Linked DNA regions of Homo sapiens: regions 1, 2, 3, 4 and 6 are each linked to region 5. Evidence: promoter capture Hi-C in 16 types of primary human blood cells and fetal thymus (Javierre and others, 2016). All regions are on one chromosome and are shown on one strand. Each heading gives the region's core, a stretch centred on a gene start or on the middle of the fragment in contact. The rest is flanking DNA. Distances are from core to core; before and after follow the strand shown. Region 1 has its middle 40 kb from the start of SMNDC1. Region 2 has its middle 57 kb from the start of SMNDC1. Region 3 has its middle 78 kb from the start of SMNDC1. Region 4 has its middle 84 kb from the start of DUSP5-DT. Region 5 holds the start of SMC3 (structural maintenance of chromosomes 3). Region 6 has its middle 18 kb from the start of SMNDC1.

Region 1 (3,793 bases), core at 345-2,844, 220 kb after region 5:
GTCTAAATTAATTAATGGGAGGTTGAAAGGCACAGCAGAAAAGGGGGCCAGAATGTGTCTGGACCCTGAGCAGGAGGGCTGTTTGAGGACAGGAAAAGCAGACATGAAGAGTGTGGCCCAGTGAGGTGGTGGAGGCATGGAAGAGGGCATACAGTCAAGTTTGGGAGTCATCATTTGAGGTTGTTTGCTTCAGAAAGAATGGAGGGGAGAGAATTAAAATTATGAAAATGAAAGAATGAATATGTCATCTATCAGCTGCAGGTCAGAGTCACAAACTCATGGGCTAGGCAGATAAGACAGAGTGGAGCAGGCCTGTAAAAGGCAATAGGGAGTGGTGGAGACTGTGGAAAACTGAAGGATACACATACATACACACACACACACACACACACACACACACACACACACACACACACACTATGCCCAAAGGCATTTAAATTTAAAATATGTTCAAACCTGTTGCTGGCCAAATAAAGCAAAGTCTGCCAGCCAACAGTTTTGGGTCCCTGACTGCAGGGGAACAAGTTGCCTGGAAACAAAGAGTTTTGGGGGAACGGGGAGAGCTGGGAGCTCCTTGGCCACAGAGCCAGAAAAAGAGTCAAAAGAGCCCCTCTGTGGAGAGCACACTTTCACTTATACTAAAGGCTTTGTCTCCCCAGTCTGCAGACTGTTCTTCATAGAGAATAAAGCTCTCCCTTTCCCCTCCTGCAATAGAGAGAGTGAGAGAGTGAAAGAGAGAGAATGCGAGAGAGAGCAGGCCCCTTTGGCTGTCAGATGGACAGCTCTCTACCCATGTTCCTTGTGGTTCCTCCAGCTTGCCTCCTGTAACTCACCTGTCCCCAGGAGTCACTCCACTCTCCCCAAAAGCAGAGTTGAGGACAAGATAGTAACTGCTGATTAACATGAATGGTGAAATGGAAACAGGGCCCCCCACAGCCATTCCCCACTCAGGAAGGCCTGTCTGCCGGCTACAAGCACTGCTGGTTCCCTGTGCTCAGTGAGACTGGCAAGCTCCCATGACGTGAGACTTGAGGGTAGGATGGAGTTGGGGAAATAAACAGAAGGAAGATGCAGAAAGGAATGGAAGCAGATACCGAAACCAAGAAAATAAGATTAGAGGGCTGACACCCTCATAGGTTATTTCAACATGAATTTCCTAGCGTAATTTTGGGTCATTTGCATTCCATTGTTGTCTCTTTCAAAGCTTGAGGTAGGGAGATTTTTAGGGACCTCCTCCACCTTCCCTGTGTAACTGAAAAAAACATGGCTGAGCTTATCTTAATAACCATCATGTATTTGGCCAAAACAATTATTTTCTTCCCTCTTTGTAGATTTAAATGTCCTTAAATGTGTTGGGGGTTTCCAGCACCTAATGTCTTCCCAGTTGTGCAGAAGGAACATGCCAGCCTTCGTGGTTTTGTTTTTCCTGCAATGCAGATGAAGAACTAAATTTGTTTTGCCAGACCTTTGTAGGGCAAACGTCTTTACTTGACAGGAGGAAGTCTTCTTCTATCTTATAAAGGAAGAAATATTTTTAAAGGCTATTTCAACATGTAAACACTTCTTTTGCCACATGCATGCCTTTAATTGCTTATTTCCACTACCTCCTAAAACCTAATGCAGAGCTATTCCTTGAAAGGAATTCAGCTGTCTGAGCCAGAATTTTGAAATGACAGGCTTGTGAACAGCAAATCCCCAAAAGGTAGTGAATATTTGTGGCTTCCTGATGGCCGATATAGTTTGAATATCTCTCCCCTCAAATCTCATGTTGAAATTTGATCCTCGAAGTTGGCAGTAGGGCTGGTGGCAGGTGTTTGGGTCATGGGGGAGGATCTCTCATGAAAGGCTTGATGCCTTCCCTGTGGTAATTGGGTTCTCATTCTGTTAGTTCACTCAAGAGCTGGCACCCCTCTCCTCTCTCTTTCCTTCTCTCTCACCATGTGATGCCTGTTCTCTTTCACCTTCTGCCATGAGTGGAAGCTTCCTGAAGCTCACCAGAAGCAGATATCAATGCCATGCTCCTTGCAGCCTGCACAACCATGATCCAATTAAACCTCTTTTCTTTATAAATTACCCAGCTTCGGGTATTCCTTTATAGCAACACAAACAGATAAAGAAAAGAGCCCAGCGTCCATCCCTGTAAAGCCCGAGAGCACTGGGTGTTTGTTCAGATACCACTCTTTCCCCCTTAGTTCATTGGATTCCAGTGGAGTTGACTCTGCGCTGAGTCTTAGAAAAGGCATTATGCCGAGGCTGGCACAACCAGATGACCACATTCTCTGATTGATTGAGGGACAGCCACTTGACCTAATTCTGGTCAATAAGAGTCGAGGAGACTCAACTGCAGCCAGTAACACCAGGGAGGACATGACACTTGGGCTGCTATGACCATCCTCTCCACACAAGGGGGTACATATGAAAATGGAGTCAATACATGTAAAGGCAGAGCCAAAGACAGAGAAATTGAATCCTAGTGACGTCATCTGAGCATTGGAATCCAGCCATACCTAAAGACAGCCCTACTCCATGGGCTTCTATGCTACACAAGAGAATAAATTTCCGGTTTTTTCCTAAGTCAGTCTGAACTGTCTTCCGAGTATCATCTATCCAATGTAAAGCAACGTGGCTGGTTCTAGTATATGATTCTGGTAAAATCTGTCCCATTAGTCTATAGTCATACCTTATTATATCTGTAAAATGCATTCAACTTCTTAAAGCATTTTAACCAATGTGTTATTGCTTTTCATCCAGACCCCTCTTAGGAGAGTTTACCCACTTTACCTCCATGTGATAAGCAACTCTCCCAAGGTGACGCAGTACTAGACAGAGGAGTCCTAATTTCCCAGCAGGCACCAAAGAAGACCATTCCCTTGTCTACATTCTCTTAAACATTTAAAAGATTACCCCTAGGAGACTGAGTCTGGAGAAGAACGATTGAAACAGAGAGGTTCTTACTTACTGCAGTCTTATTTATAATAGCCAAACCTTATTAAAATATCTTAAATGTCCATCCATTGGCACCTCTATGGAGTAGAGTAGTATGAAGCCTTTAATGAGGCAGAGCAAAATGTCCTTGTATGATACAATTGCCAAGAAATAGTTCTAAGTGAAAAAGCAAACACTGTGTGGTATGCTATTGCTTGTAATTTTAGGAAAGAGAAAGTCTATGTACATATAATCTTACACACACATCGACTGTCTCTGGCACAAACTGGTGACAGTGGTACCTCTGGAGAGGGCGCTTGGGAGTCTGCAGACAGGGGTGAGAGCAAAGAGACTTCATTTTTCACCGTGTACCTCTTTCTACCTTTTCAATTTTGTAAATGTACATGTTTTACCTATTTTATAATTAGATGAACTAATTTTTTTCAAAAAGAAATACAACTAACCACTTAAAAAATACACATTTTTAGTGTGAAGACATCACAAAGCTTTTAAGGAGTGTCTGGGCTTTTAACCCTGTGACTTCACTCCTTCCAGAAGCTGGGGCTGGGGCTTGTTCTACCTGGATGCTGATTTTTAGGGGGCAGGGTTGCCGACTGGGAGTCCATTTTGAGTGCTCCTAGAAGGAAAATGCCACAAAAGCTATTGGAGCAATTAGGCAAAATGTAAATGAAATCTATTTGGGGAGGGTCGGGGAAAGCTGAAAGATGTGGTTAAGCAGTGGGGCTGCAGGGACCTGCAAATGGGAAGGAAAAGAGGCAGCCGGTTATTTTCAGGAGGAAAGGGGAGGTCCTTGGTATTCTCTGTGTGCATTTATTCAATGTCTTAACATTTTCATCAAGTGTCTTCT
Region 2 (4,136 bases), core at 819-3,318, 210 kb after region 5:
TGGTGAGGTGTGTAACCTTGGGCAAAACTACACATTTCCAAATGTCATTTTCTTCCTGTACAAAATAAGGGGTTGGCATTGACACACGGATTCACAGAATCTTTGAGCACTTCTCATCTACCTGTCATTTTTATAGATAAGTAAGCAGGCCCAGAGTGGCCATTCAACTAACCCAAGATCATGTAGCTAACTAGTGTTAAGACTTGGGACCCAGCATTCAGACCTTCTACCTCCTGGATTTGGGTGGGATTGGATGAAAGAGGGAAACTTTTTAAGAGAGCCAAGGCACAGTGACGGGATTACACTCTCTGTGCATGCAGAGAAGTATGTAGGGGTGACTTTTCCTTCACATCAAATATTCCAGGGTTTAGAATAGTAGTTCTATCCACCCCAGGGCAATTTCATCCCTTAGGGGACATATTTGGTTGTCATAGTTGGGGTGGCCGAGGAGAGAAGGGGAAAAATTCCACTGGCATCTAGCAGAGACTAGAATACTACAATACACAGGGCAGCTCCCACAACAGAGAATGATCCAGTCCAAAATCTCAACAGTGCTGCGGTAGAGAGCCCAGTTAGACACAAGCCCCCTTCTCTACTGCCAGTATTCTCTAGAATTTTAAACATTCTTGCTTTCTTACCTTCAGTCACAAAAGCACTATTTTTTTTTTTGCTGATTTTGTTACTGATGTTGGTTTTAAAAATATGATTTTTTTTCTTGAGTATACAAATTACCCAACTCATTTTTTTTTTTTTTTGAGATGGAGTCTCGCTCTGTCGCCCAGGCTGGAGTGCAGTGGCGCGATATCTGCTCACTGCAAGCTCTGCCTCCCGGGTTCACGCCATTCTTCTGCCTCAGCCTCCCGAGTAGCTGCGACTACAGGCGCCCGCCACCACGGCTGGCTAATTTTTTTGCGTTTTTCATAGGGACGGGGTTTCACCGTGTTAGCGAGGATGGTCTTAATCTCCTGACCTCGTGATCCGCCCACCACGGCCTCCCAAAGTGCTGGGATTACAGGCCCAAACTCATTTTAAAGAATAGAAAATTCAGAAAGACACACACACTAAAATCAATCAGGTATCATCCCACCATCCAAGGGTAAGAATATTTTGGTATTTGGTATTTTTTTCATATTACCTCAGATTCACAGGGCACACCCTGCTTTCTCTGTTTCGTGGCTTTTCTCAACAATTCTCTTTTCCACCCTATCCCCATTAGTACCTGTTGAAATCTCACCCTCGCTTCAGTTACCTCAAATAGCATTCCTCCAGGAAGTGTCACATACCACTCAGAACCCCAGCTGCGCTGGAAGCGAACTCTCCTGCCTTTATATTCCTGTAGCACTTTGTAGCTCACAGATGTCAATTTTGACACTTTTAAAAATATTCCAGTTATGTGTAAATTCCTGAGGGTAGGGATTAGATTTTAGTCTGTTGAAAGTGTGTCCCCCCACCCTTCTCTCTCTGTCTCTTACTCACATACACATACACACAAACACACATACACATGCACTCTCTCTCTCACACACACACTACAGTGCAAGCACAGCACTTAAGATGAGCTCCACCCCCTTTCCTCTCCTGATATCATCGTACTCTTACTTTCAGAATAAATAACCATCCTTTAGTCACAGAGAACATTTCAATCATTGGTGGCTTTGGTTGCTCCATCATTTGCAATTATTCTAGTGCTCTTCTTTCTATGTGAATTTTGAAGATGTTTAATATTTTAATAAAAATGAAAAGTTTTAACTTAAATATCCCTTATTATGTGTCAGCTGTTTTGGGGATAGATGGTTATTTAAGTTTTCTGATTCAATCCAAACTGTGGAAAAGCATGATTGGCACTTTTTTTACAAATGTGAACACTGAGGCTTAGCAAGGTAACCTAACTTGTGCAGGGTTGTCTGACTAATTAGAGGAGGCACTGGGATTTAACCCAGGGTTACCTGGCTCCAAGACTATGTGCACCACCTTGAAGCTTCCCAAGCGCCAAGGAATCCACTTGCCTCTACTCATCTCTTTTTCTACAGTAAGAGGCAGCAGGCAGGTGCATTAGTGCCTATGGTCTAATGATCTGGGTGGCCCCAGGCAAGGCAAAGAGAGGTCACAGAGTCCAGCCCAACTCCTTGGCGTGGGAACCTCTGGCTGGGTAAGCTTCTTGGGAGCCTCTTGAATGCGTGTGCAATCCAAGGTCACAGGAAGCCAAGCATTCCCAGGCCTGTGGGCACGTGGCATCTTGAAGTCTATTCTCTTGGTCTGATACTTCCCAATGCCTTGTACTAAGTGTGTCACACGGGAGGGGGATAATGGGTGACTCACCCCACAGACACTTGTCTACTGGAGGGCCAGCATCCTATTTCTCCTTAGCAGGGGGCTGACCATGGCAGGGGCATGACCTTACCAGGGCAGGTTGGGGCTGAGCTCTGACAGAAGAGGACACATCTCTTCTTCCAAACTATCCCTTCTTTCCCAGTCAAGCTCAGCCTTGCTCTCCAAGGTTCTGAAGTCGTTTCCAATACTGAGGAGGGTTTCTCCCATTTTTTTGCAGTGTGGCAGACCAAGTACAGGCTCTGCTTCAGGTTTAGCTTTGTATCAAGCCCAGTTCTGCCAATGAGGTGATCTTGAACAAGTTGCTTGCCTTCTCAGAGCCTCAGCTTCTCCATCTGTAAAATGGTAAAAATGACACCCAACCTCCAAGGGCTGGAATGAGAATTCAGTGAATGATGGATAGAAACTGATATCATGCTAAAAAATCTCTCTCCTTTTTTCTTGTAGACATCAGAGGATGGTGGGAGGGTGGTTTGAAAATGTGGGAGAGGGGGCTGGGCGAGGTTGCTCATGCCTGTGATGCCAACACTTTGGGAGGCCGAGGTGGGCAGATCACCTGAGGTCAGGAGTTGGAGAACAGCCTGGCCAACATGGTGAAACTCCATCTCCACTAAAAATACAAAATTAGCCAGGCATTGTGGTGCACACCTGTAGTCCCAGCTACTTGGGAGGCTGAGGCAGGAGAATAGCTTGAACCTGGGAGGTGGAGGTTACAACGAGTCAAGTTCGCACCACTCAACTCCAGCCTGGGCAGCAAAGCGAGACTGTCTCCAAAAAAAGAAAAGAAAAGAAAAGAAAAGAAAAGAAAAGAAAGAAAGAAAGAAAGAAAGAAAGAAAGAAAGAAAGAAAGAAAGAAAGAAAGAAAGAAAATGTGGGAGAGGAAAGTGGGTTGGAATGGAGAGGCTGGGAGGGGCAGGCAAGGAGTGGCCCATTCCTTCCCATAAGGTTTTCTTTTCTTTTCTTTTCTTTTCTTTTCTTTTTTGAGATGGAGTCTCACTTTGTCGCCCAGGCTGGAGTGCAGTGGCTTGGCTCACTGCAAGCTCTGCTTCCCGTGTTCCCTCCATTCTCCTGCCTCAGCCTCCCGAGTAGCTGGGACTGCAGGAGCCTGCCACCACGCCCGGCTAATTTTTTGTATTTTTAGTAGAGACGGGGTTTCACCGTGTTAGCGAGGACGGTCTCGATCTCCTGACCTCGTGATCCGCCCGCCTTGGCCTCCCAAAGTGCTGGGATTACAGGCGTGAACCACCGCGCCCGGCCCCCATTTGGTTTTCTACCTGGAACCCGGGTGGAGGAGAATCCTTCTGCTGGTTACTGGCAACCACACTCAAATACAATCAGTCATTTGTACAGATTAAACCTGCTGCTCTAAATCACTGTGTGGGCTTAGGATCAGCTTCACTCCATTTCCATGAGGCAGTGGAACCCAGTGGTTAGAAGAACAGGTTCCACCTCTGTGTAGCCTTGGTCAAGTCCCTCAATCTTCGAGCCCCCGGTTTCTCATCTGTAAAGTGGGGATGTTAATATCTTATTAGGTTGCCTGGATGATTGAATTAGATCCTGCATAGGTTGTGCTTTGCTCAGAGCCTGACTTATAGGATGTGCTTCATCAAGGCAAACCTGCTGTTCATTCTTGCTATTGTTGTTATCATTGTTCCTAGCTGCAGATGGTGTTCTTAACCTGGGCCGCCTGTCTTGGAGACATGCCCATTGGGAGAGTGTGGCCAATTCACCAGGGGCCCTCAGCCCCACGCCTGGCAGCCACATCATTCACCAGATGAGCCAGCCGGGCCAGCCTCATGACTGAGGGA
Region 3 (3,755 bases), core at 1,129-3,628, 190 kb after region 5:
CGTAATCCCAGCACTCTGGGAGGCCGAGGCAGGCAGATCACAAAGTCAAGAGATCAAGACCATCCTGGCCAACATGGTGAAACCCCGTCTCTACTAAGAATGCAAAAATTACCTAGGCACAGTGGTGCATGCCTGTAGTCCCAGCTACTTGGGTGGCTGAAGCAGGAGAATCGCTTGAACCCGGGAGGCAGAGGTTGCGGTGAGCCAAGATCATGCCACTGCACTCCAGCCTGGTGACACAGCCAGACTCCATCTCAAAAAAAAAAAAAAAAAAAATTACCCCATCTAACGTATTTTGTTATAGCAGCCTGAATGGACTAAGACAGACACTCGACACTATTTTCAGTATTTGCCTGTTACAGACCATTCAGCATAAATGCCTCTTTGCACACATGTAGAAGTGGTTCTCTAGGAAAACTTTCATTTACTTATTAAGGTTACAAGTGTACCTGAATGCATGTCAATCAAATAGCTGCCATGTACTGGCACTTGGGGAATGCTAAATTTTTTTTTTTTTTTTTTTTTTTTGAGACAGAGTCTCGCTCTGTCACCCAGGCTGGAGTGCAGTGGCACAATCTCTGATCACTACAAGCTCTGCCTCCTGGGTTCACACCATTCTCCTGCCTCAGCTTCCCGAGTAGCTGGGACTATAGGCGGCTGCCACCACACCCAGCTAACTTTTTGTATTTTTAGTAGAGACGGGGTTTCACCTTGTAAGCCAGGATGGACTCCATCTCCTGACCTCACGATCTGCCCACCTCGGCCTCCCAAAGTGCTGGGATTACAGGCGTGAACCACAGCGCCCGGCCGGGGAATGCTAAATTTTTTGTGTCATAATCTCACATGTTGTTATTCCTCCAATCAACCCTGCATGGAACTGGTGTCCCTATCCGCTCAGATGAGGGAAATGTCCAAAAAACACAACTCATTTGCCCCAGATCACAGAGCTCATAAGAGAGCTGTGGGCCTTCAGATGGACCTGGCGTAACTAAGTAAGGCATCTAAGACTGTGACCTCCTTGAGACCAGCACTTGGATCACTTTCCTGCCATGTCCCCACATCTGACACAGGTCTGGAATGTCACGGGCAATAACAAATGCTCCTTGAATGTTGTTGAGCAAATGAAGGCAGGCCCGGGTGTGTGGAACCCTCCCCCCGGTTATTGGCATTAGGCCCCAGCATTTACTTACCCACCTGTCTGCTCACCTATGCCTGCCCCTTGCCCCAGCCCTAAGCCCCAGGAGGAAAGCCAGGGTGAGGGGTGTCAGATACAACCAGTCTCTCTAATGTCGTTCTCTATGACCTGTACTCTACCCACTGAGGGTGGCCTCTCACCCAGGTTCCCTGAGACCCTTAGCCTGACACATTCCCCATCTCCAGACATTTGATTAGATCCACTGGCCTTCAACGCTCAGCCCAGCTCACAACTCCCTGGCTCTGATCCCTCATGGGACCACCCAGAGCTCTTTTCCTCCTTGCCTTATATACTTAGTTTATTTTCTTTTTAAAAGTCTGAATGGCCACTATCCCCTTTGATAAAGCTTCTCTGTGTGCTCAACACAGATGAGGACATGGAGGCCCAAAGAGGTCATGTGTCTCGCCCTGGTCCCCAGCCAGCGAGCAACACAAGGTCACACTCAGGTCTCTGCAGCCCCCAAGGCCGACACTCTTCCTGTTATAGCCCAGAAAGCCTCCGAGATAAACCAGAAGGAGGCTCACTTGTTATCAAATGGGAGTTTCACAGGATCTAGAGTTGGGAGGAACATTCATTTCCTGATGCCACCTCTGTCCCCTGAACTATGGAGAATACATCCAAACCCCTGCCACACGGCAGGAGGCTCAAGTGTCTGAGTGGCTACGACTCTAGTTATCCAGGCTCAGTAGACCCTCTCATGCCCAGTTCCCCTGTGGGTCTGTCTTGACTTCTCCAGTGTGTGGCCAATTCCCTAAAGGTGAGAAGATCTTCTCTTAGACTCCTGTGTCCTTCCACAATCTTCCCAGTGTGGATCAGGTGCTATTTTACTCCTGTTTCAACCTTGAGTTCCTGCAAGTGCTCTTCAGCTGTTCATCTCAAGTGAAATGGGAGCAAGTAGGCAAGGACAAAGAGTAAATCACTCTCCTCCAACAGCCAAAGCTCTAGTCCTTCTAACGATAGCATCCACTATTGAAGGGGGCCTTAGTATGTGCCAGTTGCTGCGCTGACAGTCACAGCCTCACTTCCTTCTCACGTCAGCTCTGTGAAGGAAGAACTGGTATTGTGTCCACGTTGCAGATGAGAAAGTTGAGGCTTGATAGCTTACATGACTTGCCCAAGTTAATGCAGCTAATGTGTGGCAGTCCGAGACCAATACCTGGCTCTCTGCCATCACATTTGACAGTCCCCAGCTATATCAGCCAGGGTCCTGTAGGAAATGAAGCACACTCAAACTGGGTATTCTCAGGAAAGTGAATAAAGGGACACTGCACAGAAGTATTAGCAGGGTCTGGGCAAGCCCAAGTGGAGAGCAGTGTACCCTCAGCTCATGCCAGCTGTGTGGACAGCACTCTTGGGCCCGAACCTGAGACAGGGGCTATGTGGAGAGGCTCCCTAGCAGGAGCTGTGGCCTTCAGTGGACAGACATAGACACAGCTCAGCAAGAAGGGAATAAACACCTCTAACTGCTCACCTCCATGTCTGTCCAGTTTCCAGCCAGTGTCCCACTGGTCAAATCCAGCTGGAAGCCAGAGCCCAAAGGAACCCACTGATATAACACACCAATGTCAGCTTCTGGGCACAGAGGAGGGGAGAGAGTGGATGGAGTGGGTGGCAGCAAACAGAAGGTCTCCAGAACCCTAGCCAAGGTAGAGTTAGCAGATTCACTAAATGTGGCTACAAGACAAATGCATCTTGGGATTCATGTGGCACAAACTAAGAGATGGAGATTTTCCTTTTATTTAAAAATTCAACCAGGGCTGCATCAACCCTGGCTCAAAAGCAATCATTTCTTCTCCCCCATCACCTCCACCAACACAAAAAGAGAAACAAGAAAAGAGAATAGGCACAGAGGCAAGGCTGAGTGTGGAGCGGGGCCCTTACCTAGGCAGTGAGGCAGTATGTTCCAGAATTGAGACCTCTCAGCTCAACCCCTGCTTCCCCAGAGAGGACCCAGACCCACCACGGGCTTCCATATATAAGGAATCTAGAAATGCAGGGACTTTGAGAAGAAAGAAGCTTGGAGGAGAGCACAAGGGCTCCCCAGAGAGTTTGGGTCTCCAGTCTTGATGCATTTACCAGGTGCCTACTGCATGCTCTGCACTGTGCCCATGAGAAGGGCCTGGGTTCAAGTCTGACCCAGACCCTGCCCACATCTGGCCACAGTCTAATAGGAAACTCAGACACATAAAGCATAGGCGACAGAACAGTGTGGGAAATGCACTAGTGGAAATATGTACACACGCAAGTCAACAATTAAAAAAATTAAAAATGGACAAAGGATTTGAATAGAAATTCCTCCAAAGAAGACACACAAGTGGCCAATAAGCACATTAAAAAATGATCAACATTATTTGTCATTACAGAAATGCAAATCCAGCCACAATGAGATATTGCTTCAAACCACTAAGATGACTCTAATCAAAAAGACAGATAATAACAAGTGACGGAAAGGGTGTAGGGAAATTGGAATCTTCATACACTGCTGGGGGGGCATGTAGAGTGGTACAGCCACTTTCAACAGTTCCTCAAAAGGTTAAACACAGAGTTTTCATGTAACCCA
Region 4 (3,982 bases), core at 999-3,498, 160 kb after region 5:
CCTTAAAGAGAGAGGCGAGAGAAGGTGCATGCATGTATGTGTGTGTGCACACGTGTGTGAGAGCAGGTACATGAGAAGCAGGCCACAGAGCGTCTATACTGGAGTCTGCCTTTGTCTCTGACCTCCCAACCTGGCCGCTGGCCACATACAGTGGAACCCAAGGAGGACTGCTGATGCTCTCTGATCATTTTCTGCAATGCGTTATGCCCTGGGAAATGAAAAGTGCTCCCTTCTTTCCATCCCCAGACTTTTCAGGAAGCAAGCACAGTCCTGACCTTCTAGATATATCTCCAGAGGCTCAACAGAAGCTGAGGAGTGAGGCAATTATTTGAAGAATTCAACCCCACTTCAGGCAGCTGTCTGAGCAGATTGATGCAACGGGAAGAGGCAAGACTGAGCGCCAGGACCTAGTTTCTCGTCCTGGTGCTGCCGCTCATTTGCTTTGTGACCTTGAGCAAATCAGTTTTCCTCTCGAGCCTCTAGTTTCTTTCTCCTCTGCACATCCATTTGTTATTTCTTCAACAAATACCTATTAAATGCATACTGGGCCATGCACCTGAGTATACCATGCTAGATTCAGGAACAAGCAACTATGGAGGATGAAAAATGTCCAGGAAGTCTTTGCACCTCCTCCTAACAAAAACTAGCACTACTTCTCTGTCCTTTGACTCTAGGATGACCTTGTAACTTGCTTTGACTAATGCTGCGAAAGTGACTCTTGACTTTTGCTCTCGCCCTCTTGGAACCCAGCTACCACATGAGGAAGCCCCAGCTAGTCTGCTGGAGAGGCCACATGGAGGAGAACTGAGCCTCCCTCACTGACAGCCTCCACCAACAGCCCATCAAGTTAGACTATGCAGTCCCAGTCAACAAGCCACTTGACCAAAAATGTAAGAGTGAGCCCAGCCAAAACCATCTGGAGCAGAAACAAGCCACCCTGCTGAGCCTTGACCAAACTGTCAACCCACAGAATTGTGAGCAATTACATGGTTGCAGTTTTCAGCTATTAAGTTGTGGTGGTGGCTTGTTATTGATATAATTAATGTTTATTGACAATTTCCAATGTGCCATTGACAATGCTAAATGTTTTACATATATAATTTCATTTATTCCTCCCATCAACCATGTGAGGCAGGTACTACTATTCAAATATCCATTTTACAGATGAGAACACTGAGGCACAGGAAGGAGAAGCAACTTGCTGAAGATCAAAGAACAGCTGGGTAGGGGAGCTGGGATATGAGGCCAGGCAGTCCAAGCTTCAGAGCCTACACTGGTAATTCACCACCACCTTACACAGAACCAAACAGACCTGGTTCTTGCCCTTACAGAGTTTATCATCTAGGTGGGAGACTGGCATTAAAGAAACACAGAAATAAATATACAATCACAAATATTGATGAGTGCTAGGAAGAAGACAGATGCTACGGTGTGTTCACAGAGAAGGCCTCTAGGGAGGCCCGAGGGTCAAAGGGGCAACCAGCTGAGCGAGCTGGGGCAAAGACCAGAGGATTAGAATGTGATTTTGCAATTTCTGTCAGCATAGATGTCCCCTGGGAAGCCTGGTAGAAATGCAAAAAAGACCTGGGCCTAATTCCCCAGAGGTTCTGATTTTCACCAGTCACCTCCAGATATTCTGATTTGCTGGCTTTGCTTGATTGGGAGCCTGATAATTCTTTTTGTTTTTGTTTTTCTTTCTTTCTTTCTTTTCTTTCCTTCCTTCTTTCTTTCTTTCTTTCTTTCTTTCTTTCTTTCTTTCTTTCTTTCTTTCTCTCTCTCTCTCTCTCTCTCTCTCTCTTTCTTTCTTTCTTTCTCTCTCTCTTTCTCTCTCTCTCACTCTTTCTTTCTTTCTTTTTGAGATGGAGTCTTGCTCAGTCACCTAGGCTGGAGTGTAGTTGTGCAATCTCGGCTCACTGCAACTTCTGCCTCCCGGGTTCAAGCGATTCTCCTGCCTCAGCCTCCCCAGTAGCTAGGATATTACAGGCATGTGCCACCACACCCGGCTAATTTTTGTATTTTTGGTAGAGACAAGGTTTCACCATGTTGGCCAGGCTGGCTGGTCTCCAACTCCTGACCTTGTGATCCGCCTGCCTCGGCCTCCTAAAGTGCTGGGATTACAGGCTTGAGCCACTGCACCCGGCCTTCTTTTTCGTTTTTAAACGTGCCCCCCAGCTGATTTTTCTCATAAGGGAAATTTGAGAAGTACAGCTCAGTAGTATCGTGTGAATAGATTAAACAAAATAGCTGCCCAGCCCCCATTCTGAGAGAGATTATGATCCATTTGGTCTGGGGTATTTTTTTTTGAGACAGAGTCTCACTCTGTCACCCAGGCTGGAGTGCAGTGGTGTGATCTCAGCTCAGTAGAGACAGGGTTTCACCATGTTGGCCAGGCTGTTCTCGAATTCCTGACCTCAGGAGATCCTCCCACCTTGGCCTCCGAAAGTGCTGGGATTACAGGTGTGAGCCACCGCATCCGGCCTTGGAGTGAATATTTTTAAAAGCTCTTTGGGTGATTCTAATGTGTGGCCAGGGCTGGGAAGTGATGTTGGAAGATTCTCCAAGGTCCAAGGCTGCTGCTTTTCTCTAGTTCTTTGGAGACACCAGGGCTGGGAAGTGATGTTGGAAGATTCTCCAAGGTCCAAGGCTGCTGCTTTTCTCTAGTTCTTTGGAGACACCAGGGCTATCTGGGGCTTCTGAAGCTCTCCCTTTGGTGATTTAATACTGTGGAGACCCAGAACAGAGCCTGAGGTCAACCTTTGCTCCAGACGGGGCTCTGACTGAACAGGCCCAGTAGACCCCTCCTCACAGACTACCCTCCCCCCGTAACATTCCCAGGGGCTCCCTCTGGCTCCCACATTCCCTTTAATTTTCATTTGCTTTAAAGTGGAGAATTCCTTTAATTGCAGGGAGAAAATGACTACCACTTGCAAATATTTGTCCTCCTCTAGGGCCCTATAAGGCAGCTCCTTCATTTTATTCTCTTCCTTTGACACCTTGCTCAGGGCCTCTCGGAGCTCATATTCCCCACTCTCTGGAGAATGATGCCATCTGTGGGGTGACCCATAAGAAGGGCCCATGGTGCCTGGATGGTTTCTTATCTGGCTTCCTCCTCTTCTTCCAAATAAGGCAGGAGGGTCACCGGGAGTGCCACCTGATGCAGCTTGATTTAGACCAGAGAGTATGAAAGAATCCACTCTTGGCTTGGGGCCCACCAGCCGCAGGCCTGAAGAAAGCTTGCTGTAGGCGAGGAGGCAGAGAGAGAAGGGCGCTGGCCCAGAATGCTACAGCCCCTTGTGAGTGGCGCAGCATGGGCTTGAGCATGCAGAGGTAGCACGTTCACGGCACAGGCGTGAGAAATGCCTCCTCCCGACAGCCTTGTCCCTCCATTCCAGTGTGGCTGATGGTCGCCACATAGAGGATTGCCACGAGAATTCAGAGTTCGTGGTGGGGTCTGGGGCATGGCGGGGACTCCCTAAAGGAGTTTTCATTCCTCTTTGCTAGGACAGACACAGAAATAAACTTGATGCCCGAGGAGGAAGACAGGGCCCCAGGAAATACCCTTCTTTAGGGGCTGGGAGAGACTCCAGTAGTTGCGGCCCATCCCTGGAGGCCCCAGCTCTCTCTCCAGTCCCCAGGAGCTGAGAGGTCAGCCCTGCCCACTCCTGTCTCACACAGAGGACCCTCCAAGCTGGCTGTATGGGAACAGCCTTGCCCACACATGATCCAGATGGTTGCCCAGAGGAGGGGATGGCCGAGGGAAGGGTGAGGCCTGACCAGTGATGAAAGAATGAAGAGAATGAGGTACTGACTCATTCTCTGGCTCCTGCTCTAGGAAGGAAAAGGACTTATTTGCGGGTGGGGGTGTGGCTGGAGCCAGGCCAAAGGGTGCAGTGAGAAATGAGGTGCCTCTGGCTCACGGATAAATCCTCCTGGGAAGTGGGGCCAGTTTACGAAACCCAGCAACTTGATTGACGGTCTCTTC
Region 5 (4,140 bases), core at 1,450-3,949:
GATAAATCGAGGGCAAAAAAACCTGCCTTCAATTTTATCATTTTATACAAAATGAAGTATGATTCTCTAAAGGTCTTCTGGAAACATTAGTAATGTGAATCTCACCCACGCACCACAGACTGAATTGAACTGACACCCTGAAACAACTGACACCTTAATCCCGAATGTGATAGTATTTGGACATGGGGACCCCTGGAAGATGATTATGGTTAAATGAGGACATGAGGATGGGGCCATGTGAGCACACAGCAAGACAGCAGCTGTCCATAAGCCAGGAAGAGAGCCTCACGAGAACCTAACCATGCAGGTATCCTGATCATGGATGTCTGACCTCCAGACTATGAGAAAAAAAATATCTTGTTTAAGCCACCAGTCTATGGTATTTTGTTATGGCTGCCTTAGCAAACTAATACACCACTTAGTTTGGACTCTGTACAGCAAAACTGTGTCAACAGCAGTCTGTGTTTCTGGTGTCCAGAAGCACTCCTTTCATCTATCCTGTAAAATACTCAGCAGAGTGTCAGAAAACATTTTTGTTAGCTGTATCAGCAAAATGCACACTACAATCTGAGCAATCTATAATGACTACATATTGTTAATGGCAATCACCATTAGCTCTTTATCTTCACACTTACATAAGGTTTCTCATTTAATCTTCTCAACAGCCCTATGAGACAGGTATCATCTCCACTTTACAAATGAGAAAACTGAAGCTTCTCAGAAAGTGAAAAAGAACGTGTGCCACAACTGGGATTTTTTTTTTCGTTGTTGTTATACTAGGATACATGTGCACAACATGCAGGTTTGTTACATAGGTATACATGTGCCATGTTGGTTTGCTGCACCCATCAACTCGACATTTACATTAGGTATTTCTCCTAATGCTATCCCTCCCCCAGGCCCCCACCCCCCTATAACTGGGATTTGAACCCCATTCTGTTATGCTCCAAAGTTTATGCTCTTCCAATCTAGCTACATGGTCTGTCCTTAGAGACACTGACTGCCGGGGTGGGGGGGGAATCCTGGCATCTACTTTGTGAATAAAAATTGTCTGTCTCTGAAATAAGGCAACAGTCAGCATTTTCACTAGGATATATAACAAGAACAGAAGAGCGGAAATGCTTTAAAACACTCTTACACACACATACAAGGCTACCTAGATAAAAAATGGATAACTTATGAGTGTCTTATCCAAACATTTTAAGTTTATAAAAATAAGCAATTCATCAGTGCAATAAGACAGAAAAGTTATTTCACGCAGAAAAATATAACTTAATATTCAAAGACAATTCCTGTCTCCTTAAGCCAATATAGAAATGGACAGAATTTACATTATCTGTATAGACTATAAATATGACCGAGTAAACCAAGAACACTTACCAATCACATTATGTTTTGAACTGAAGGGATCTACAATTGTTTGATCTCTGTAACTTCGAAAACCCTGGATAATCACCTAGTAAATAAAAAACATTTTTGAGAACCCACCCCACAAAAAAAATTAACATTTTTCTCTTGCATTTCTTTCTTGTTTTTCATTTAATGCAATATAGAAAACTCGAAATTTCATATAAGAAAAATTCATTTTGGAAAGTGGTGATTAAAAATCTGCTAAAAAAAAAAAAAGGTACTTTTATCGGTAATCTTTGCCAAGGCAATGCTGCTGGGTTTTATTTTTTTTTAGGAGTTATGCTGTCAACCTGTTAAGGACCTTTCAAAATCAAAAACACTGTGTGAGCTTAACTGAACCCTAAACGCTGCAGTACAATAGCAAGTCTATAAAAGCAGGCCGACGGGCCCCAGCTCTCCTGACTCCAAGACCACCGAGTGCTGCTTTCAGTCACTCACGCCGGCCAGCCTGAAAGAACCCACGTTCCAAAGAAGGAGTGCTCAGAGCCCGACAGACCCAACAGAAAACCGTCTCCAAGGCCGTGTGCCTGGGCTCATCTTTGTGGTGGAGTCCCGCGCGGGAAGACCATTTTGACAGAAGTAAACAACCGAGGGAGGCGGCGCTCCGTATCCTGCAAGCAGGAGGGTCCCGCTCACTTCGCGGGTTAACTGGGGAGAAGAACGGCTCCCCGCAGTGACAGGTGACGACACCCCAGCCAATGCCCCCAGGGCCGCCCCCGGGCCGGGGAAGCCACCTTTCCACACATCCCAGGCACATGGGCCGTGTGAGGCCACCCCTGCAGGACCACACAGCCCTTCCCGCCCGCGGCCGCCCCGGCGGGGTGCCCCCCGCCAGCTCTGGGGCCACCCAGGAAGGCCCAGTCCCTCCCAGCGGCCCGCCCGCCGGCCCTTCCACACCTCTCGGAGATCCTGCCTCTCCCAGACAAGCGCCAGCAGGGAGGCCGGGGCTGCAAAGGAGTGCCCCAATTCTCCGCGACCCCGCAGCCGGGGCACTAGCGGGACCCGGGTCTCCCTCCTCCCCCACAGTCCCCGCCCAGCCCTGGTCCAGCCTGTGGAGACAGGGGAGAGGCTGCGGGTGGCGCCGCAACACTCCCGCCTCAAGGAGCGGCCCTTACCGGCCCATGACGGGGTGGAGGGACGCGAAGGCCTTACCTGCTTTATGTACATGATTCCGGGCCCCTGGCCTGGAAGGAGACCTGCCCCGGAGCAGCAACCGCACGGCCGCAGGGTCAGGTGAGGCGCCTACGCGACCCCTCCCCCAAAGCGCCGCTCGCTCCCCTCAGCCAAACAAAATGGCGGCGCTCGTGGGGGCGGAGTCCGCGCCTCGGACGGAACCACCTTGCAGCCTTCACAGGGCGTAGGAGGAGTCAAGTTCAGGTCTGCTCTTTCTTTTAGGCAAAACCAGTCCTCCACAGCGTTTTTTGGTGGATTTCTTTTGAATCTAGAATTCTGTAGCTAACGCTTTCCTGAGACTTAGTCAAAAGCTTCACTCGGAAAATCTATGACCGTAGGGTTGGTCCGTACCACCTCCGAGCGCGGGGCCAATGGTCGCGTCCACAAAGGGGGAAAGGTTCCGCGCCAAAGCCAAGAGGGAGACTCCGAGGGCCAGTAGCGCCGCGGGCTGTCGGCCACGTGATTCCGCGCTGTTTAAAAAAGCGGACCTCGCGCGCACTGTGCTAGCCTTGGAACACATGGAATGCTGGTGATTCTTGGAATTCTGTGTGCGGAGTCACTGCTGCCCCTTTGTTATCGCTCTCCATAGGAACGTTTACAATCTTAGCACGCCCCAAGCTGGTTACGAATTGCCCACTCGGAGGACAACCCCGAAGGGATTTGTCAATGCTCGAAAATTTGTTTTAATAATGTGATGATTAATTCCGTCGGGAACTGTTTCTGTTCTACCATCTGCTATAAATCTAGGCAGATCTGTACAATTGCAACAAAGATTTAGGTAAGGCTGAAAGCTTTTAATCCACTTTAAAAACAAAAGAAAACAGCCTGAAAGATACTAGGTGCTAGTGGCAACCCTAGGTCTGTCTGATCCTTGTCAGTCTTGGGAGAAAAACATCATTTGTTTAGAAAATGAATCTCTGGGCTGCTCTGAAATTACTTGCTGGGAAGAGAACAAAATAACTACCCAAATCATCCCCAGCCCCACCCCCGCCCGCTGCTGGAGACAATTCTGGCCCTAATTATTTCTAGATTGAACTATTTTTAGTAGCCTCCTAACTGCCTCTGCTAACCAGGGTATCTCCCTAGGAGTCCTTTATCTGGAGCCCGGATCAAATCCTATCCAGCCCTTGGTTTAAAAAAATAAATAGGCCTGGTCGAGTGGCTCAAGCGTGTAATCCCAGCACTTTGGGAGGCTGAGGGGGGAGGATCACCTGAGGTCACGAGTTCAAGACCAGCCTGGCCAGCATGGCGAAACCCCCGTCTCTACTCGAAATACAAAAATTAGCTGGGCGTCGTGGCGGGTGCCTGTAATCCCAGTTAGTCGGGAGGCTGGGGCAGGAGAATTGCTTGAATCCAGGAGGCAGAGGTTGCAGTGAGCCAAGATCGCGCCACTGCACTCCAGCCTGGGCAACAGAGCGAGACTGTCTCAAAATAAATTAAATAAATATGTAAGCATTTTCTTTTCTTTATTTCTAACTTTTTTTTTTTTTTTTGACAGGATCTTGCTCTGTCACCCAGGGTGGAGCTGGAGCATAGTGGCTCGGTCATGGTTCACTG
Region 6 (3,912 bases), core at 1,277-3,776, 250 kb after region 5:
GTGTTGGGCTGGGACAAGTGTCACCCACTCACTTTGATGGATACACCCCAAGCATAGAAATATGTGGTCAATGGGAGTTCAAGACCAGCCTGACCAACATGGAGAAACCCTGTCTCTACTAAAAATACAAAATTAGCTGGGCATGGTGGCACATGCCTGTAATCCCAGCTACCAGAAGTTTGAGGCAGGAGAATCACCTTAACCCAGGAGGCGAAAGTTGCAGTGAGCCAAGATCACGCCATTGCACTCCAGCCTGGGCAACCAGAGTGAAACTCCATCTCAAAAAAAAAAAAGAAATATGTGGTCTGATTTTTTTGAGCTCTATCACTGCTCACTGTTCTTGACAACTTATTTTCCTTCTTTGACTTACCTTTGTTGATGCTACTTCTGCTACTTCTAAATTGCTTTTTAGTAAACCATGAAGGGGTCTCCCTCATATGAAAGGAGTTTCTTGGGGGTACAAAGAGAGTTGGCAACAGATGTTCAGTATATGGCTTGGGCTGGACATTGGAGGAATATTGCCTCTCCCAGGTCTCAGGACTCCCACCTATGTTATCTATTAAGTGGACTCAGGATAAGAATTCTGGGATAGACAAGAGATATCTACAGAAAGCACTAGTGTGGTAATTAGCTCCGGCAATGAAAATAAACAAAACATGTACAAATCTTTCAAGTATGGTCATAATATAATCTTTATAAGAGAAATGTTATCATCTGGGAGGACGATAGAAAGGAAAGAAAGGATGGAAAGAAAAGCACCAGGTCACAGAGGAGGGAACTGGCATAGTGAGCTGACTCACTAGGTCCCTGGGCCTATGCTCAACCAGCTCCAGAAGACAAGGAGCAAGAGCAGGAATGTGCGGGAGGGCAGCTGATGTGGCAGTGATGCAGCAGCAGAGAGGCCTCCTGACAGAGCTAAACCTGACTCATGCCCATTTGTCTGGGACAGCCAGATCTTTCTGCAGGTCCCATTTTTCCTGGTTTAAGCTGGTCTGTAAGTTGAGTGAGAATCATTTTCCTGGGTGTCAACTCTGTGGCCTTCCCTTCAGAGTGGACATAAAATCAATAATGCTGATGAGCTGAAAATGACTGCAAACAAAAGACAATATTTTGGAGAAATTTGGGCTTTGTTTTGGCAAATGAGTGGCTTAAGAGTTAGAAGGAAGAATCCTAGGGATATGAGTGATGGACATGAGTACTAGTCCACAAAAAGTGGTATAAAAAGCAAAGAAGGGTAGTCTCTCACCTACAGCAGAAAAGAGTCCAAAACGGTTTCATTGAAAAAGATCACTCTCCTAGTTTAAGCTTATTGTTGGTCTACTCATGTGCTAGTGACCAAAGTTACACATGAATTGCTTAGCCCAACGCATCTCCTTGGTGGAAAAATAAGCTCAGTTGCCTCACTGTCCATTATGTAAGCACGTGTACAAAGTTCCCCTCCTTGGGCCTTTGCCTCAGGTTCTTTGCTGGTTTTCTCACCTGGATAATCTTATTTGGGGAGGTTTATCATGGCAAAAGAAGAACTTACTGCCTGAGAAACAGATAGGCTCCATATAGGGAATCAATTCAAACTCTTGTTTCACTCAGCCATTTGCTCATTCAACAAACACTCAGCCCCAGCTATTTGCCATGTTCTGGAGATCTACAGATGAATAAGACCTGATGCTAAAGGAAAATCAATGGCAAGAGTACAATGGAACACCAGATATAATAGAGGTAAAGGAGCACAGATACCACAGCACTACGCAGGATGAGCAGGGGGCATCCAGTTCCACCTAGGGAAAGGGGTCAGGGACGTTTTCCAAGAGAAGATGACCCTTGAGTTGGTGATTGAAGGATGAGTACAGATTAGCCTGAGAAACAAGAGAATAAACTTCCACTAAAAAAGATCAACATTGGCAAACCACAGAGGTGTGACACTGTGGCTCATTTGGAGACCTCCAAGTGGCATAACTAAGGCTAGAGATGACATCAGGACCCAGATCTTGAAGCAATATGCTACGGTATAGAAATTCTGTTTCCAAAGGGATGGAAAATCACTGGAAGATTTTAAACTGGAAAGTGACAAGGTCAGAATTCGGGCTTAAAATAACCATTCCGGCAGCAGAAAGAGAAGAGATCAGGATGACAATTTAGGAGACTCCCAGGCTATAAATATGGAATTGTACTAAGACAGCAGCTGTGAGAAAGGAAAGAGGCTTGAGCTATGTAATGACATAGTAGATGGAGTTGGTGTCCCACTGAAGTAGAAAAGAAAGGAGAAGAATGAGTTCAGAGGGACTCCAGGGTTCTCTCTTGTAGAAGGCAGCAGGTAGCATCATTTCCTGAAAAAGTAAATATAAGAAGAGGAGCAAATTCGGAGGGAAGAGGATAAATTCCATTTTGGACATGTGTGCAAAATGTCTGTGGCTTCTTTCACTTTTAGCAGTTTGAGTAAAGTGTTCCAAAGTATGCTTTTCTTTGTATTTATCCTGCTTGGGGTTTACCAAGATTCTTGGATATGTAACTTTATGTCTTTCACCAAATTTGGAAAAACTTCAGCCACTATTTTCTTATTTTTTCTTTTTTGATACAGAGTCTTGCTCTGTCATTCAGGCTGGAGTGCGATGGTGCAATCTCAGCTCACTGCAACTTCTGCCTCCCAGGGTCAAGCAACTTTCTTGCCTCAGCCTCCTAAATAGCTGGGACTACCGGTGCATGCCATCACACCCAGCTAAATGTTGAGTTTTTAATAGAGATGGAGTTTCACCATGTTGGCCAGACTGGTCCCAAACTCCTGGCCCCAAGTGATCCACACATCTCAGCCTTCCAAAGTGCTGGGATTACAGGCATTAGCCACTGTGCCTGGCCTAATTTCTTTTTTTGCTTGTTTGTTTGTTTTTTGAGAAAGGGTCTTACTCTGTTGCCCAGGCTGGAGTGCAGTGGTGTGATCATAACTCACTGTAGCCTCAACCTCCTGCTCAAGCGATCCTCTTGTCTCAGCCTCCTGAGTAGCTTAGACTACGGGCGTGCACCACCACACTTGGCTAATTTTTAAATTTGTATTTAATAGAGATGGGGTCTCTCTATGTTTACCAGGCTGGTCTTGAACTCCTGGGTTCAAGCAATCCTCCTGCCTTAGCCTCCCAAAGTGTTGGGATTACAGGCATGAGCCACTGCACCCAATCTCAGCCACTATTTTCTAATACATTTTCTGTATTATTTTCTCTTCATTAGGGATTACAAGTGTGCTTATGTTAGAATTTTCTGTGTTGACCCAGAGGTCACTGAAGCTCTTAATTTTTCTTCAATCTTTTTTTTCTCTTTTATCTTCTGTTCTGATAATGTCTGTTGGTCTATCTTCAAGCTCACTGATTTTGATCGGCCATTTCTAATCTTCTGTCAAGTGCATTGAGTGAATTTTTAATTTTAGATGTTATTTTTTACTTCTAGAATCTTCTATTAGTTCATTTTTGTAGTTTCTGTCCCTCTGCTGAGGTTTCCTCTCTGTTCATTCATTATGAGCATATATTTGTTTATGTCCTTGAGCAGAGTTAAAATAGTTTACAATAGTTAAAATAATTGTATCCTCATTCAAACTTTTACATCATCTTAGATTCAATCTCTATTGATTGCCTTTTCTTTTGAATATAGGCCACGTTTTTCTGTTTTCTTCGATTGTCCAGTAATTTTGGATTGTGACCTGCACATGGTAAATTATACATTATAGAGACCATGGTTTCTGTTATGTTCCTCTGGAAAGCTTTTAATTTTTTGTTTTACAAAACAGTTAACTTGGCTACACTAAAACTTCAAACTCTTTCTCTCGTATAATGTGCAAGAGTTAAAATGTCCGTTCAGTTCTTTTGTCATTAGCTAGGCTATTTGAGGTCTGCCCTTTATGTGTATAATCTGGAGGACAGTCAGAGATTT

The links. Contacts are between HindIII fragments. The CHiCAGO score rates a contact against its expected background, and 5 or more counts as called.
Region 1: a fragment that was not itself captured here is called in contact with the fragment with the promoter of SMC3 in region 5 in 12 of 17 cell types (fetal thymus, megakaryocytes, M0 macrophages and 9 more); the score reaches 10.6 in fetal thymus.
Region 2: a contact is called between a fragment that was not itself captured here and the fragment with the promoter of SMC3 in region 5, in 7 of 17 cell types (total B cells, naive B cells, fetal thymus and 4 more). The highest score is 9.9, in total B cells.
Region 3: a contact is called between a fragment that was not itself captured here and the fragment with the promoter of SMC3 in region 5, in 1 of 17 cell types (naive B cells). The highest score is 5.2, in naive B cells.
Region 4: a fragment that was not itself captured here is called in contact with the fragment with the promoter of SMC3 in region 5 in 1 of 17 cell types (endothelial precursors); the score reaches 6.0 in endothelial precursors.
Region 6: a contact is called between a fragment that was not itself captured here and the fragment with the promoter of SMC3 in region 5, in 16 of 17 cell types (total B cells, M2 macrophages, naive B cells and 13 more). The highest score is 16.1, in total B cells.

Annotation. Positions count from the first base shown.
Region 1 is chr10:110,342,825-110,346,617 of GRCh38, reverse strand. No RefSeq gene overlaps it. Among named protein-coding and RNA genes, the nearest start is that of SMNDC1, 40 kb to the right of the region's middle. The HindIII fragment of the contact is 776 bases long and covers 1,207-1,982 here.
Region 2 is chr10:110,359,418-110,363,553 of GRCh38, reverse strand. No RefSeq gene overlaps it. Among named protein-coding and RNA genes, the nearest start is that of SMNDC1, 57 kb to the right of the region's middle. The HindIII fragment of the contact is 176 bases long and covers 1,981-2,156 here.
Region 3 is chr10:110,380,780-110,384,534 of GRCh38, reverse strand. No RefSeq gene overlaps it. Among named protein-coding and RNA genes, the nearest start is that of SMNDC1, 78 kb to the right of the region's middle. The HindIII fragment of the contact is 1,670 bases long and covers 1,544-3,213 here.
Region 4 is chr10:110,410,439-110,414,420 of GRCh38, reverse strand. No RefSeq gene overlaps it. Among named protein-coding and RNA genes, the nearest start is that of DUSP5-DT, 84 kb to the left of the region's middle. RefSeq lists enhancers at 1-177, 3,255-3,982. The HindIII fragment of the contact is 1,974 bases long and covers 1,262-3,235 here.
Region 5 is chr10:110,566,254-110,570,393 of GRCh38, reverse strand. It overlaps SMC3 (structural maintenance of chromosomes 3), which reads right to left and starts at 2,699. Exons shown (of 29, transcript NM_005445.4): 1 at 2,563-2,699; 2 at 1,381-1,456. The coding sequence starts at 2,577. It overlaps LOC105378483 (a long non-coding RNA gene), which reads left to right and starts at 3,086. Exons shown (of 2, transcript XR_946318.2): 1 at 3,086-3,361. RefSeq lists a silencer at 2,090-2,379 and enhancers at 2,720-2,819, 2,830-2,879, 3,694-4,140. The HindIII fragment of the contact is 2,181 bases long and covers 716-2,896 here.
Region 6 is chr10:110,320,670-110,324,581 of GRCh38, reverse strand. No RefSeq gene overlaps it. Among named protein-coding and RNA genes, the nearest start is that of SMNDC1, 18 kb to the right of the region's middle. The HindIII fragment of the contact is 2,437 bases long and covers 1,308-3,744 here.